4 separate regions of the Homo sapiens genome follow, and all the other regions are linked to region 2. Evidence: promoter capture Hi-C in 16 types of primary human blood cells and fetal thymus (Javierre and others, 2016). All regions are on one chromosome and are shown on one strand. Each heading gives the region's core, a stretch centred on a gene start or on the middle of the fragment in contact. The rest is flanking DNA. Distances are from core to core; before and after follow the strand shown. Region 1 overlaps ARHGAP42 (Rho GTPase activating protein 42). Region 2 holds the start of ARHGAP42 (Rho GTPase activating protein 42). Region 3 overlaps ARHGAP42 (Rho GTPase activating protein 42). Region 4 overlaps ARHGAP42 (Rho GTPase activating protein 42).

Region 1 (3,210 bases), core at 513-3,012, 190 kb before region 2:
TCCTGACCTCGTGATCTGCCTGCCTCAGCCTCCCAAAGTGCTGGGATTACAGGCGTGAGCCACCGCGCCCACCCTGGTAACACCTCTTAACTGTCACAACAGTTAAGGAGCTGTCCTGAAGTCATCAAGTTCACACACAGCAGAGCCAGGATTCAAACCAAGTTCTCCTTGACTTAAACCCTGTGTTTTTTCCTCTGAAACAACTGAATCTCTGGAAAGCCAGACTCAAGATACAGACAAATCTGAGGTAGGAATTTTACAGAAGACATGAGAAACCATAGTCTTTCATTTACAAGCATGAAATGCTACTGGTCATTAAAGAAAATGCAATTAACAGAATCTATCCTGAAAGTGTAATATACAGAGTAAACTTACATGAGCAAAGAAGTATAGTAAAGCACACATGGCCACATAAATTTGCTTCCCGTAGGAGTCTTGTATTTCAAGGCATAAATTAAACTCCAAATTCCCCAGAGGCTAAGTAAGGTAAGCAACATAAGAGACAAGAAAAGATATACTGGGAATATTTTAAGTGTCACTGCATCTGAGCTTTAGTTTTCAAAATGGAACTCTATTGTTTCTGATTTGATTTACTTCCTAGAACATCAAGAAAAACTGAACAAATACTATTTAATACTCCAATTCTAACAGATTTTTAAAAATACAAGAATTTGGCTTTAAGAGACAATACATCTCACAATGAGCTCACCAGTATTACCAGCTGGGACCAGTTAACCACATTTACCAAATAAGGCAAGTTTTTTCAATGCCTGAAATCTTTCTACAGTGAGCTCACTTCACTTCTCACTGGGTTTCTACAGTAATTGTAGAGGTCATCTCTCCAACTCAGAGTCTGTAAATCACCAGGCTCTTGATGCAAACGTGGGTTGCATGGTCTCTGGAGAGCATTAAATTTGGCTTCAGATTATTACTGGCTGTATATAGAAGAGAAAGACGTAAAATCAACTCTAAATACAGAACAGTAAGAAGCTGTATTAAGTGAAACCTATTAATAAAGTCAGTGAGCTGTTTACTATGATGAATATAAATGGTAGAGCTTACCAGATTTCTCTCAATATATGTGTTCAGTTGCAAATATATTGCTTGCTCTAGGGCTGAGTCTACACAAACATACCCACAGATTTCAATAATGTTGGCTAACAAATGAGTTCACTTATCTGCACAATCCCAAGGAAACAAAATAATTTTTTCTTTTTAATTGGCTGATTTTGTATAAAGTAAAAGCAGTGCATACAGACAAATCCGTGATGAGATTCACCACATTCTTACTTAAAATAACAAATGTTGTTGGGAGGATGGTTGTCCACCATATTTAGCAGTTCTGAAAACTAAATAAAAGCATCTGATTGTAAAGTGTTTTTACCTGACCTTCTCTTAAATATTTAAATACGTCCAACTACAGAAGCAAAAAGGATTCTTTATTTTTCTCTTCTATATTGCTTGTGTGCTAAGCTATAGCCCTAAACTAAGAACGTATATATTTTCTTCAAAGGTAAAAGGTTTCCATGAAAATAAAAATACTTGAAATAAAAATTTGTGGTGTCTGTGTTAAGAATATTATTTTCAGCCACAAATTTGTTCAAGGTCAAATTCAAGTTCATCTTGCTGTAAATTCTGTGGTTTTCCAACATAGGAAGCCAAATTATCAAACACATGTTATTAAGTTTGTGCTACCAGAGAAGGTATTTTGCAAAGGTAAGGACTGAAATTTGTTTCAGGTCTTAGTCCAGTGAGTGGTGAGCAAATTTTTTTTATAAGGAATCAAAGAGTTAAGCATTTTATATTTTGTGGGCCACATGCTCTCCTACACAACCACCCAACTGTGCTCTTGTAACAAGATAACAACCACAGAGAACACATAAACAGGTAAGAGACACTATATTCCAATAAAACTTTATTTATGGACACTGAAATCTGAATTCTACAGTTTCCGCTTGTCAAAAAATGTTACTCTTTATTTACCCTCTTTATGCTACTCTTTAATTACCCTCAGCTGGCCCTGTCCAGTCACCCCCCGCCACCCTGGACGTGGCCATGTCCCTCTGCCACACCCCAGGCCCTGTGACGGGCCACTGAGAAGAGCCCACTGTGGGATGGGGTTGACCTCTGTTGCCTGCCTGGGTATCTGGGCCTGGCCACCAACCGTGTTCTTCATGTGTTGATTTTATTTGACCCCTGGAATGGTGGGTCTCATCCTTCCCGTCTCGGCCGAGAGTGGCTGAGGGCTGCCTCACTGCAAACCCTCCCCCCAGTGTCAGTGATGGTCATCCTTGTCTCAGAATGACCAGGGTCCAGCCAATGTCTGACCAAGGTCAAGGGGCAGGTGCAGGAGTGGCAGGGATGGCTCCGAAGCCAGAAATGCCTTAAATTGCAACGTCCTTTCCCCATCCCCACCCCTAGCCCCAGCCCTAGCCCAATCCTCCTAGGAACAGGACCTGATAAAGCGGATGGTGGGAGGCTGGGCACCGGGTTACTAACTCCAGTACGTTCCTGTGTTGATCACTGTGAAATAAAGTCTGAAAACTTTAAAAGCAAAAAATAAATAAAAAATAAAATAAATAAAAAATCAAAGTGTAACAAAAAATAAAAAATAAAAATGTAACAACCATTCATAGTTCATGAGCCACACACACACACACACACACACACACACACACACACACACACACAGAGAGAGAGAGAGAGAGAGAGAGAGAGAGAGAGACAGTGGATTAGATTTAGTCAGCAGTTTGCCAACCCTTGCCTTAAAACATAGAAATTAACATTTGCAAATCAGGATGGAAACAAAAATCACCCTTAACTGCAGGGTAGAAAACTCATCCTGAGGTAAAAGAGAACAGAGTCATCTGAGTCCTGAGATACGTGCTTTGAGCTGGTAAGTAAGAACTGTTAAAGACAGCACAGAAGACACTGGATTCACTTTCTCCTGTGCCACACTTCTTTTGGGGACTGGATAATAACAGTGGAATTCACAGATGGGGCAATAAGCCTATCCTACCCAAAGGGAAGGAAAGGAATACATTTTAAAAAGGAAAGATACGGTAGACTGGAGAACTAATCTGGCACAAAAATAAACACATTACAATTCCAGAAGCTGCAGAATCAAGGCAGAGAATGAAAAAGGCAAAAGGTGGTGCCCCAAGGAAACAGGAGGACCAACAAAGAGGCTCATCTGTGAACTCCATGGAA
Region 2 (3,295 bases), core at 450-2,949:
ATTGTCTCAGTTTTAGGCGCACACATCCCTATCATGTTGTTATACAAAGATGATGCCCCCATATATGTCCTGGGGGTAACTAGATCACCCAAAGGTCTCTCTACCTTTTGAAAGTACCTCACTCACCCAGCTTTAAGTGACCAGAGATTCCACGGCTTCATTTCAGTAGCTAAAACATCCAGAAGCCTCTATTAAGATGCAAATACTTTTCACAGGCTCCTTTGAAGATGGAAAATAAATAAATACATAAATAAATAAAAATAAATTTTTTAAAAGATGCAAATACCTCCTGGGAAAGGTAACAAGCCATATCATGTAATTGTGCTCAATTCTCTGTAAGAGAAACTCTTCAGTTTCAGATACTCTTAGGTCTTAGGAATTGAAAGCTAAGATCCAGAGGATAAAAGGAGGAAGGAAAATTTGATCAAGAGGTGTATGGGAAAGGAGGTGGAAGAAGCCCTATATTATAGACTATAACAGTCTTTATATTCTACAGATCATCAAAAGTTCTGATTGGCCTTTAACCCCTTAACTTTCATCCCAATGACACACCCAACACCCACACAATGCAAACCAAAACTAAGACGCACAGAAAACTTGCAGAGTTAAAATGCACTGGTGCCTTGCTGTCTTCCATTATCTTACAAAATGGCAAAACTGCAAATGTATGCTTTTTAAAAAGCCAACTCAATGACTGTGTCCAATGAAGAGCCACTGACGTATGAGAGACATTAATAATTTTCTTTCAATATCACTAAACTAGCCTAATTTTATCTTTAAGACAAACTCTTGATTCCCCCCTTAAGGGCTTTTTTAGTTCAAACTATTAATAGACACAATAAATTAAAAAAAAAAAATTAAAGTCCCCAACATCTTCCTAGGAGCATTACACAACGAGATGACTTTGAACGACTTTCCTCAGGATATATTCCAGTGCCCTGTAGAGAACTTTCCCCATCCCTGTAGACATGTGAGTAAGTAAAGAACACCTCAAGAACAAACTTTGTTGGCCACCAGCAGGGGAGCTCTTCAGCTTTTGTCCCCAAATCCATTCAAACAAAAGAAGCTCCGACTCCTCCAACCCACCCTTCGGACCCGCACCCCGCGGGGACTCTCCAGATGCGGGTGTCCACTCCCCCGCCAGCCCTACTTACTCCTCAACGCCCCAATGAGCAGAGAGCCGTCCTTAATGAGCTCCTTGATGAACTTGTTGGTTCGCTCCAGCTCAATCTCGTGACACTGCAAGCGCTCCCTGAAATCTGGGCTGTCCAAGTAGGAATCGCTGAACTCCAGAGTGGGCAGCCCCATGGCACAGGCGCTGCCAGCGGCGGCCGCGGACACGTCCGGGCCGGAGGTCAGGGCGGGGGCAGCCGGCGGCCGCGGCGGGCGCTGGGGTCGCGCGATCGCGGGGAAGGCGCCGGGACGCGAGGGGACTGATTGCGCGGAGGAAACGGGCCCCGAGCGCCGCGCCGCCTGCGCCGGGCTCAGTCTTCCTCCCCCGAGGCTAGGCGAGCGCAGGCGCGGGCGGCGGGCCGAGGCGCGAGTCCCCTCAGGTTGTTGTCATCTGGACGCATCGTCGTTCGGAACGCGGGGGCGGCGAGGCTCCGGGCCGCGGCCGGAGCAGGAAAGTTTCTCTCACGGCGCGCAGACACTTCCGGCAGTTCCACTCCCCAACTCTCTTGACAGTCGTCGGCGTTGTGAGCCAGAAGCAGCGCACAGCCGCAACTCCGGCCGGGCTGGGGAAACCCTCCCCCTCGGCGGACGCAGGCTCAGAGCGCTTGCAAATCGCACCCGGGCTCCCAGACCCTCCTCCCCGCCGCCGCGCTCCCACCCAGCGCCACCCCGCCCCTTCGCCCCTTTGCCCTCCTGCCCCACCCGTCCGCCCGCACTGGGCTCCAGGGCTCCCCGCGCTGCAGCCCCGCGCTTGCGCTCCGGCCTTGGCTGGGGTGTTAGCCCTGTCCCCTCTTGGGCCCCTGGTTTCGGCTAGCCCTTGGTGACACTTCGGGGTCCCTCGCTCCACAAAAGGATCTGACTCCCAATATACCTCCCCTAACAGTGTCCCCTCCACCCACTCCCTACAATTCTCTGGGAGAAAAACCAACGTTAAGTTTCCCTAAAGTCTGAGTATTTTGAAGCGTAGATGGAAGATACTACTGTCTAGCGTTCGTTTAGATTTTACTTCACACTTCCCCACCGAATGCATTTGAATTCCACGTTGAAAAATTGTCCCGTCGCTCTCCCACCCCTCAGCTTCAATGATCCAGCCTGGAGGTGTTTCTTCCCCCTGCCCCCACTCCATAGCTGGGAAGGTGGGACGATTTTTCAAGTCATCCTCACTCTGCTTACGTGCTCCTACTTCTAGTAGAATACCTATTTGCATCACAATAGTAGTATCTCCTATTGGCACCTGGATGGAATTGTCCTAGGAGCGGGAAAATTTTCAAATTGTTGAAGTGGACTGGAGTTTGAAATAAATAGTTAACTCCTACCCACAGGCTTTATCCTTCCTCCGGTGGAGGTTCACCTAATAAATTTCTGTTCTCTTAAAACCTTGACAGCAAAAGAAACGACTGCTTTACATCTCGTCCTGACATCATCTATAGGATTTCTGAGAACTCGGATATTGTTCTTAAGGATCTGCTTTTAATTTCTGCATTTTCATTGCTTTGTCCATATGAACCATCTGTTTAAAAACTATTCTACAGATCATGGGAAAAATTCCACTAAAGTGCTTTACATTTTTCCCAATTAAGTTTCAGAGCCAGTCAAGATTCTTGGTTTCAATTTTTTAAATGTACAGGAACATTAAAAATAACATGTAAACCTAAAACAGATAAGATAATGTAAACAGTATGGGCCAGGCGCAGTGACTTAACGCCTGTAATACCAGCATTCTGGGAGGCTGATGCAGGAGAATCACTTGAGGTCAGGAGTTGGAGACCATACTGGCCAACACGGTGAAACCCAGTTTCTACTAAAAAATACAAAAATTAGCTGGGCCTGGTGGCGCACGCCTGTAGTCCCAGCTACTTGGGAGGCTGAGGCAGGAGAGTCACTGGAATCCGGGAGGCGGCGATTGCCATGAGCCGAGATTACGAGATTACTCCACCGCACTCCAGCCTGAGTGACAGAACGACTCCATCTCAAAACACCTTCCATCCATATTCACATCTTTGGCCCCATATTGGCAAAATGACCAGTCACTATTAGAGCCATTTTAACTCCAAGTGTTAAATTTGTTTTTGTTAACTAAATACTCTTCAATTTTTTTTTTCTTTTGCAGGTTTGGGGAAGG
Region 3 (2,986 bases), core at 117-2,616, 240 kb before region 2:
AAGAAAGTTCCTTTTATCACTGACGAAATCTCATATAGCACTTTATTATTCCCAAGGGTATAGAACCAAATTACTTGTCGCTCCAATAACCCAACCAGTTGGAAAAACTGATACCATACTTAACAGATAAATAATCTTTTAAAATAACCCCATTACAAGACAGAAAAGGAACAAATATTCAAAATTAAAAACTCGTGCTTCATGTACACTGTCATGAAAATTGAAAGAAAACTCACAGAATGGGAGAATATATTTACAAAAATCATTTATCCCATAAGGGGCTTGTATGCAGAATATATAAACAACTCATAATTAAATAATAAAAAGACAAATAACCTAGTTTAAAAATAGGCAAAGAAATTGAATAGGCATTTCTTGAAAGAAAATATATGAATGGTCAAAAAGCATTTGAAAGATTCTTATTAGTCATCAGAGAAATCGAAATCAAAACCACAGTGAAATCTAAGTTCAGCTCTCTAGGATAGCTAGACTCAAAAAGTGAGATAATAGCAAGTGTGTGTGAGGGACATGGAGAAACTGTATCCCTCATATATCACTGGTGGGAGTGTCAAGGGGTGCAGATATTTTGGTAGTTCGTCAGATGGTGAAACATACAGTTACCACATGACTCAGTAATTCCTCAAGAGAGAGAAAAACATGTATCTACACAAAAATTTGTACATGAACGTTTATAATAGGGGTCCCCAATCCCTGGGCTGCAGGCCAGTAAAGGTCATTTGTGGCCGGTTAGGAACCCAACTGCATGGCAGGAGGTGAGACCTGGGTGAGCTCTGCCTCCTATCAGATCAGTGCTGGCATTAGATTCTCATAGGAGAGTGAGGCCTATTGTGAACTGTGCCTGCGAGGGATCTAGGTTGCCTGCTCCTTATGAGAATCTAACTAATGCCTGATGATCTGAAGTGGAACAGGTTCATCCTGAAACCCTTCCCTCCTCACCAATTTTTTCATGGAAAAATAGTCTTCCATAAAACTGGTCTCTGGTGCCAAAAAGGTTGGGGACCGCTGGTTTATAACATTATTCATAATAGTGAAAAGGTACCTATCAACTAATATTTGGATAAGCAAAATGTGGTCTATCCATACAATAAAATGTTATTTGGCCCTAAAGGGAAATGAAGTATTGATGCATGCTTTCAGATGGATGAACCTCGAAAACCGCATCTGAGTAAAAGAAGTCAATCACCAAAGGGGCCACGTATTACACAATTTCATTTGTATGAAAGGCCCAGAGTAGGCAAATTAATAGAGACAGAAAATAATTAGTGGTGTTTCAGTATTAATGGTTGTGGGGTATACTGGGAATGATACCTAAAGGATGTGATGTTTATTTTTAAGGTGATGAAAATGCTTTAAATTTTTTTGTGGTGATCGTTGCACAGATCTGTGAATATACTAAAGTTCCATTGAATTGTATAGTTTAAATGAGTTGTCTGTATGGTATGTGAATTGTATCTTTATGACTTTTTTTTTTCTTTTTTGAGACAAGGTCTCACCCTTTCACCCAGGCTGGAGGATAGTGGCATGATTAGAGTTCACTGCAGTTTTGACTTCCCAGGCTCAAGTGATCCTCCCACCTCAGCCCCCAAGTAGCTAAGACTACAGGCGCATGACACCATGCCCAACTAATTTTTGTAGAGGTGGGGTTTTGCCATGTTGCAAAGACTGGTTTTGAACTCCTGGGCTCAAACAATCCTCCCGCCTCGGCCTCTCAACTTGCTGGGATTACAGGTGTGAGCAACCATGCCTGGCCTGAAGTTGTTTTTAAAAAATAAAAATAAATACTTCCCAAACACAAAGCACCATAAGGCACTATAAGAAATCAAAATGTTATATAGTTCCATCCTTCATATTTGGCCATCTAAACTTCTAAGAAGATTAGAAAAGTAGGGCAAAGTCAAGGCATCAATTTTCACACTGTAAAAGTGTCAGGCCTGTGAGTTAAATCTGTAGTCTTTGCAATTCCCTGCCTGGAGGAAACTTAGAGATAAACATCTTAAAGGATACCTTCAAAATGACTACAGATTGCTTTAAGTCTAATGCATAGATGTGCAAAGGAGTTCATGGCATGAAAACGAAAGCATATATAAATCGAATCAAATAAATAATGAGAAACTTGAAGATAAAAAGAGAGCCAAGAATGGAAAGTGGCCAGTCAATGCTGGCCTGGAAAAGACTACTTTTAAAATGGGAGGACAGAAGCACAAATGAATGAATGGACAATTACGTGCACTGATTAATAAAACAAAGCCGTGGCCATGCATCGCCTCAGCACTGAAAAGCGTCATTGGAATTCCTGAAAAGATGGATTTGTAAGCATTCAAGAGGATGGAATTCAGATGAAGAGGCCTGAGGTACACTTTCCTGGTAAAGGAACAGAGGCATTGACAATAGCCAGCTTATCTTTACAGCTCAATTGTAATAGAGAAAGTACTGTCACCAGCAAGCTGATAAAGCCCAGCAGAAGCTACATGATTGATTTCTACCAAACACATAGGATGCAGTTTTCTTACTTTTACAAAATTCTGTTCACTAAGTTCTATCACAAATTTCTAATTTTCAATAACAATACCCTGAACTTTAGATTTATCCAAGGACCATTACAGATTTTATTTTTACTTAAAAGTTTTGTTGTTAAATTTTTAAAGAATGAATGCCCTTAGATTTTAAACAGGATAGAAATTTAACCTTTAGTCCTACAGAGTTTCGAAAAACAATGATGCTAACCTTATTTTTTTCACTTTTACTAAATTAAAGCTAACTGATTACGTTGAAAAAGAAAAACACATCAAAATGTTAAACTTTCAAAAGCTGCTCATCTATATACTAGCTGATGGACTTTTAAAAAAGACTTAGCCAGTAGCATTTCAATCTCAAAATTATTTAAGCTTTTTAAATTTAGAGACTCTGAAAAGTATTTTATAGTATACGTCTTGATAATAACAAGCTATAACATGTTAGCAAATTA
Region 4 (3,065 bases), core at 197-2,696, 220 kb before region 2:
AGTTGTTCAAACTCATTCATTATTGGAGACAAACAAATTAAATCCATGAGATATTACATTATATCAGTTGGATGCTCTAAGAGTTAGAAAGTTGAATGATGCCATGTGCTAAGAGCATGTGGAGACACAGGAACCCTTAGGTACTACTGATGGGATTGTAGAGGGGTGAAGTCTTTTTAGAGGGAAACATTGCACTACTAAGGGACATATATGTGTGTCCTAAGAACCAACTTCTGGGTGTATCTCTCAATGAGATGCTAACAGAAATGTCCACAGCAAACATGAATGAGCATATTCATTAAGTTGTTACCTGTGGAAACAGAAAAGGAGATGGGGTATTTGTTAGAGGGTACATAAAATGTATTAGATGTGTACTATGGAGTGCTACACGGAATTTAGAGAGAAATAATAAGTGTTGATGGATCTCAAAACACAGTTCTGGGTAGAAAAATTTAAAACAAATAGATACATAAAACAACATAATTTACAGAAATTAAATGTAAATAAGGAAGAGGGCTATTAAAAACAGAAAACAGAGTTTTAAAACATAAAGAAGGATATCAGAAGCCCATCTGACTAATAGAACTGCTGAATGAGAGATAATAAAATCAAGAGAATTGCCAAAAAAAAAATTTCAGGAATATTTCCAGAATGAATTTTTTTTTAAAGTTTCCACATTAAAATGGCCCAATATGTACACTGTACAATGAATGAGAAAATAAACAAAAGGCATGTCATCATAAAATGTTTAAAAAACATGGATAAAATGAAAACCTAAAAGCAACCCATAAGAAAATGGAGCTTACATAAAAATCATCAGAAATCAGAACAATAATGGATCTTCAACAGCGTAAAAGAAGCAATAAACCAAAATCCATAGCCTTCAAATTTCTGAGGACTAATTCATTCAAACCTAGCTTTCTATTTCTAGTTAAATTATCAATCCAGGTTGAGGGTAAAATAAAAATATTTACAAATGTGTAAGGCCTCAAAAATTCTACTGCTTCTGTACCATTTCTCAGGAGAATACTGAGGGGTGTGCTCTGCTCACATAAGGGAATAAATCAAGGAAGTTAGGCAAAAGATCTGAAAAAACAGGAATTTTTTCAGTTTTAAGAGTCACAGGGAACTCCCAAAATCATGGTAATATGATCTTCCAGAAAATTAGATGGACAAGTAAGCCTTTGAACTTTAAAGCAACCAGCTAAGATGAGAGTTACAGGAGAAATGTCTCTAAACAAATGGAATGGAGAAGGTATTATCTGGTATGTTTAAACATATTAAGACTATCGCCCTGGCCAGAGTGCCATGGCAACATCTTGGCTCACTGCAGCTTCCGCCTCCGAAGTCAAACGATTCCCGTGCCTCGGCCTCCCGAGTAGCTGGAAACACAGTCATGCGCCACCATTCCTGGCTAATTTTGGTTATCTTTAGTAGAGACGGGGTTTTGCTACGTTGGCCAGGCTGGTCTCAAATTCCTGGCCTCAAGTGAACCACCCGCCTCGACCTCCCAAAGTGGTAGGATTACAGGTGTGAGCCACTGTGTCCGGTCCAAGATTTGTTTTGTAATTATATCCTTGTACTTGGAAACAGAATATTAAGCAAAATTTGAAAGTAAGGCAATTACTGATGCCAAGAAACAAAAAATTAGGCAAAAAAAGTAATCATAGAATCTGATATGGTTCACCTATGAACCATAATTATATTGTTATGTGGACAATGAGCGTTGATCTTTTAAAAAATGTAATCAAATGATATATATTTGGAAGGTAGCAGGAAGGGAAATATGTTTGAAGTAGTAGTGGTTGTGCTACTGTAAGGATGCTAAATATTCATTTTCCATAGGTGGAAGTTAATTATTAAAGACATACATAGTTTTCAATAATCTAATCATATGTGAAGGCATATAAATTAAGCCAGCTCCTTGCTCCATCTCTGTTCCAAAGTTCTGATCCCTGAAGGCAAATACTTGTAAATTTTTAAGCTATTGATTCCCATTTGTCTCCACTTTTCTAAATAATATATTCACTTTCCTTTTTCAATCTTAGGCATTGTTAAATTCTTCAATAATTGATTTCTGTTTTAAAAGTGAGAAGGAGAAAAATGGAGATGGGATAGCAAGAGAGGAGGAGAAACACAAAAGTTGAAAAATTGGTAAGAATGAACAAAAATTAGAATGGAGAGAAGAGAAAGTTTCCTAAGGGTATGCTGACACCTGGCTCACAAGTAGATTTTTATTAATTCATTCATTAACTTGAGCTTTTAGTAAATACCCATTTTGTGACTGGTACTGATGCTCAGTGCTGACCAAGACTGGGAGAACAATTAACAGTGGTTGTAAAGTAGTTTGCATACCAGAACTCCACATAAAATTCTACAAGGTAAGAATAATAAATCCTCATTTTATGAGCATGAAAACATTATCAGAGAAGAGAGAAGTAATCTGACCAAGGTCACAGAGCTTATGACAGGCACAGCAGATAATTAAAATTAAATCTATCTGGTTCCCAGTTCCATGTTCCTTGCAAAGTAAAATGCAACCTAAGGAAGCAAAAGATTAAAACCATAGCACTTCACTTCCTCCAAAAAAAAGGTGGGGAGGTCAGGTGGGAGTTGAAGGAGAAAAAGGACAAAAGAAAGGAGAGGGAAGAAAGAAAGAAAAGTGAACAAAGAAAGAGATTAAGGAAAGAGGGGATGAGAGTCCGGGCATGGTGGCTCATGCCTATAATCCCAGCACTTTGGGAGGCCGAGGCGGGTGGATCATCTGAGGTCAGGAGTTCGAGACCAGCCTGGTCAACATGGCAAAACCCCGTCTCTACTAAAAATACAAAAATTAGCTGGGCGTGGTAGCATGCGCCTGTAATCCCAGCTACTTGGGATGCTGAGACAGGAGAATCGCTTGAATCTGAGAGGCAGAGGAGGTTGCAGTGAGCAGAGATCACACCACTGTACTTCAGCCTGGGCGACAGAGCAAGACTCCATCTCAAAAAAAAAAAAAAGAGAGAGGAAAAATAGGAAGTAGAGGGGGTGTTCGATATTTGTAATGCCACTTTAAACCTTGTGAG

What was found. Contacts are between HindIII fragments. The CHiCAGO score rates a contact against its expected background, and 5 or more counts as called.
Region 1: a contact is called between a fragment that was not itself captured here and the fragment with the promoter of ARHGAP42 in region 2, in 1 of 17 cell types (naive B cells). The highest score is 5.1, in naive B cells.
Region 3: a fragment that was not itself captured here is called in contact with the fragment with the promoter of ARHGAP42 in region 2 in 6 of 17 cell types (erythroblasts, megakaryocytes, naive B cells and 3 more); the score reaches 12.3 in erythroblasts.
Region 4: a contact is called between a fragment that was not itself captured here and the fragment with the promoter of ARHGAP42 in region 2, in 1 of 17 cell types (total B cells). The highest score is 5.4, in total B cells.

The regions. Positions count from the first base shown.
Region 1 is chr11:100,874,589-100,877,798 of GRCh38, reverse strand. All of the region lies in intron 4 of ARHGAP42 (Rho GTPase activating protein 42), which reads right to left. Among named protein-coding and RNA genes, the nearest start is that of SNORD13I, 58 kb to the left of the region's middle. The HindIII fragment of the contact is 5,652 bases long and covers 1-3,210 here.
Region 2 is chr11:100,685,692-100,688,986 of GRCh38, reverse strand. It overlaps ARHGAP42 (Rho GTPase activating protein 42), which reads right to left and starts at 1,699. Exons shown (of 24, transcript NM_152432.4): 1 at 1,155-1,699. The coding sequence starts at 1,308. It overlaps ARHGAP42-AS1 (ARHGAP42 antisense RNA 1), which reads left to right and starts at 1,032. Exons shown (of 2, transcript NR_133571.1): 1 at 1,032-1,354; 2 at 3,284-3,295. RefSeq lists enhancers at 935-1,304, 1,625-1,674, 1,388-2,098 and silencers at 1,325-1,494, 1,795-1,984, 2,035-2,329. The HindIII fragment of the contact is 7,960 bases long and covers 1-3,295 here.
Region 3 is chr11:100,927,099-100,930,084 of GRCh38, reverse strand. The region is part of intron 6 of ARHGAP42 (Rho GTPase activating protein 42); the gene reads right to left. Among named protein-coding and RNA genes, the nearest start is that of SNORD13I, 5.7 kb to the left of the region's middle. The HindIII fragment of the contact is 3,084 bases long and covers 1-2,908 here.
Region 4 is chr11:100,904,182-100,907,246 of GRCh38, reverse strand. All of the region lies in intron 4 of ARHGAP42 (Rho GTPase activating protein 42), which reads right to left. Among named protein-coding and RNA genes, the nearest start is that of SNORD13I, 29 kb to the left of the region's middle. The HindIII fragment of the contact is 4,721 bases long and covers 1-3,065 here.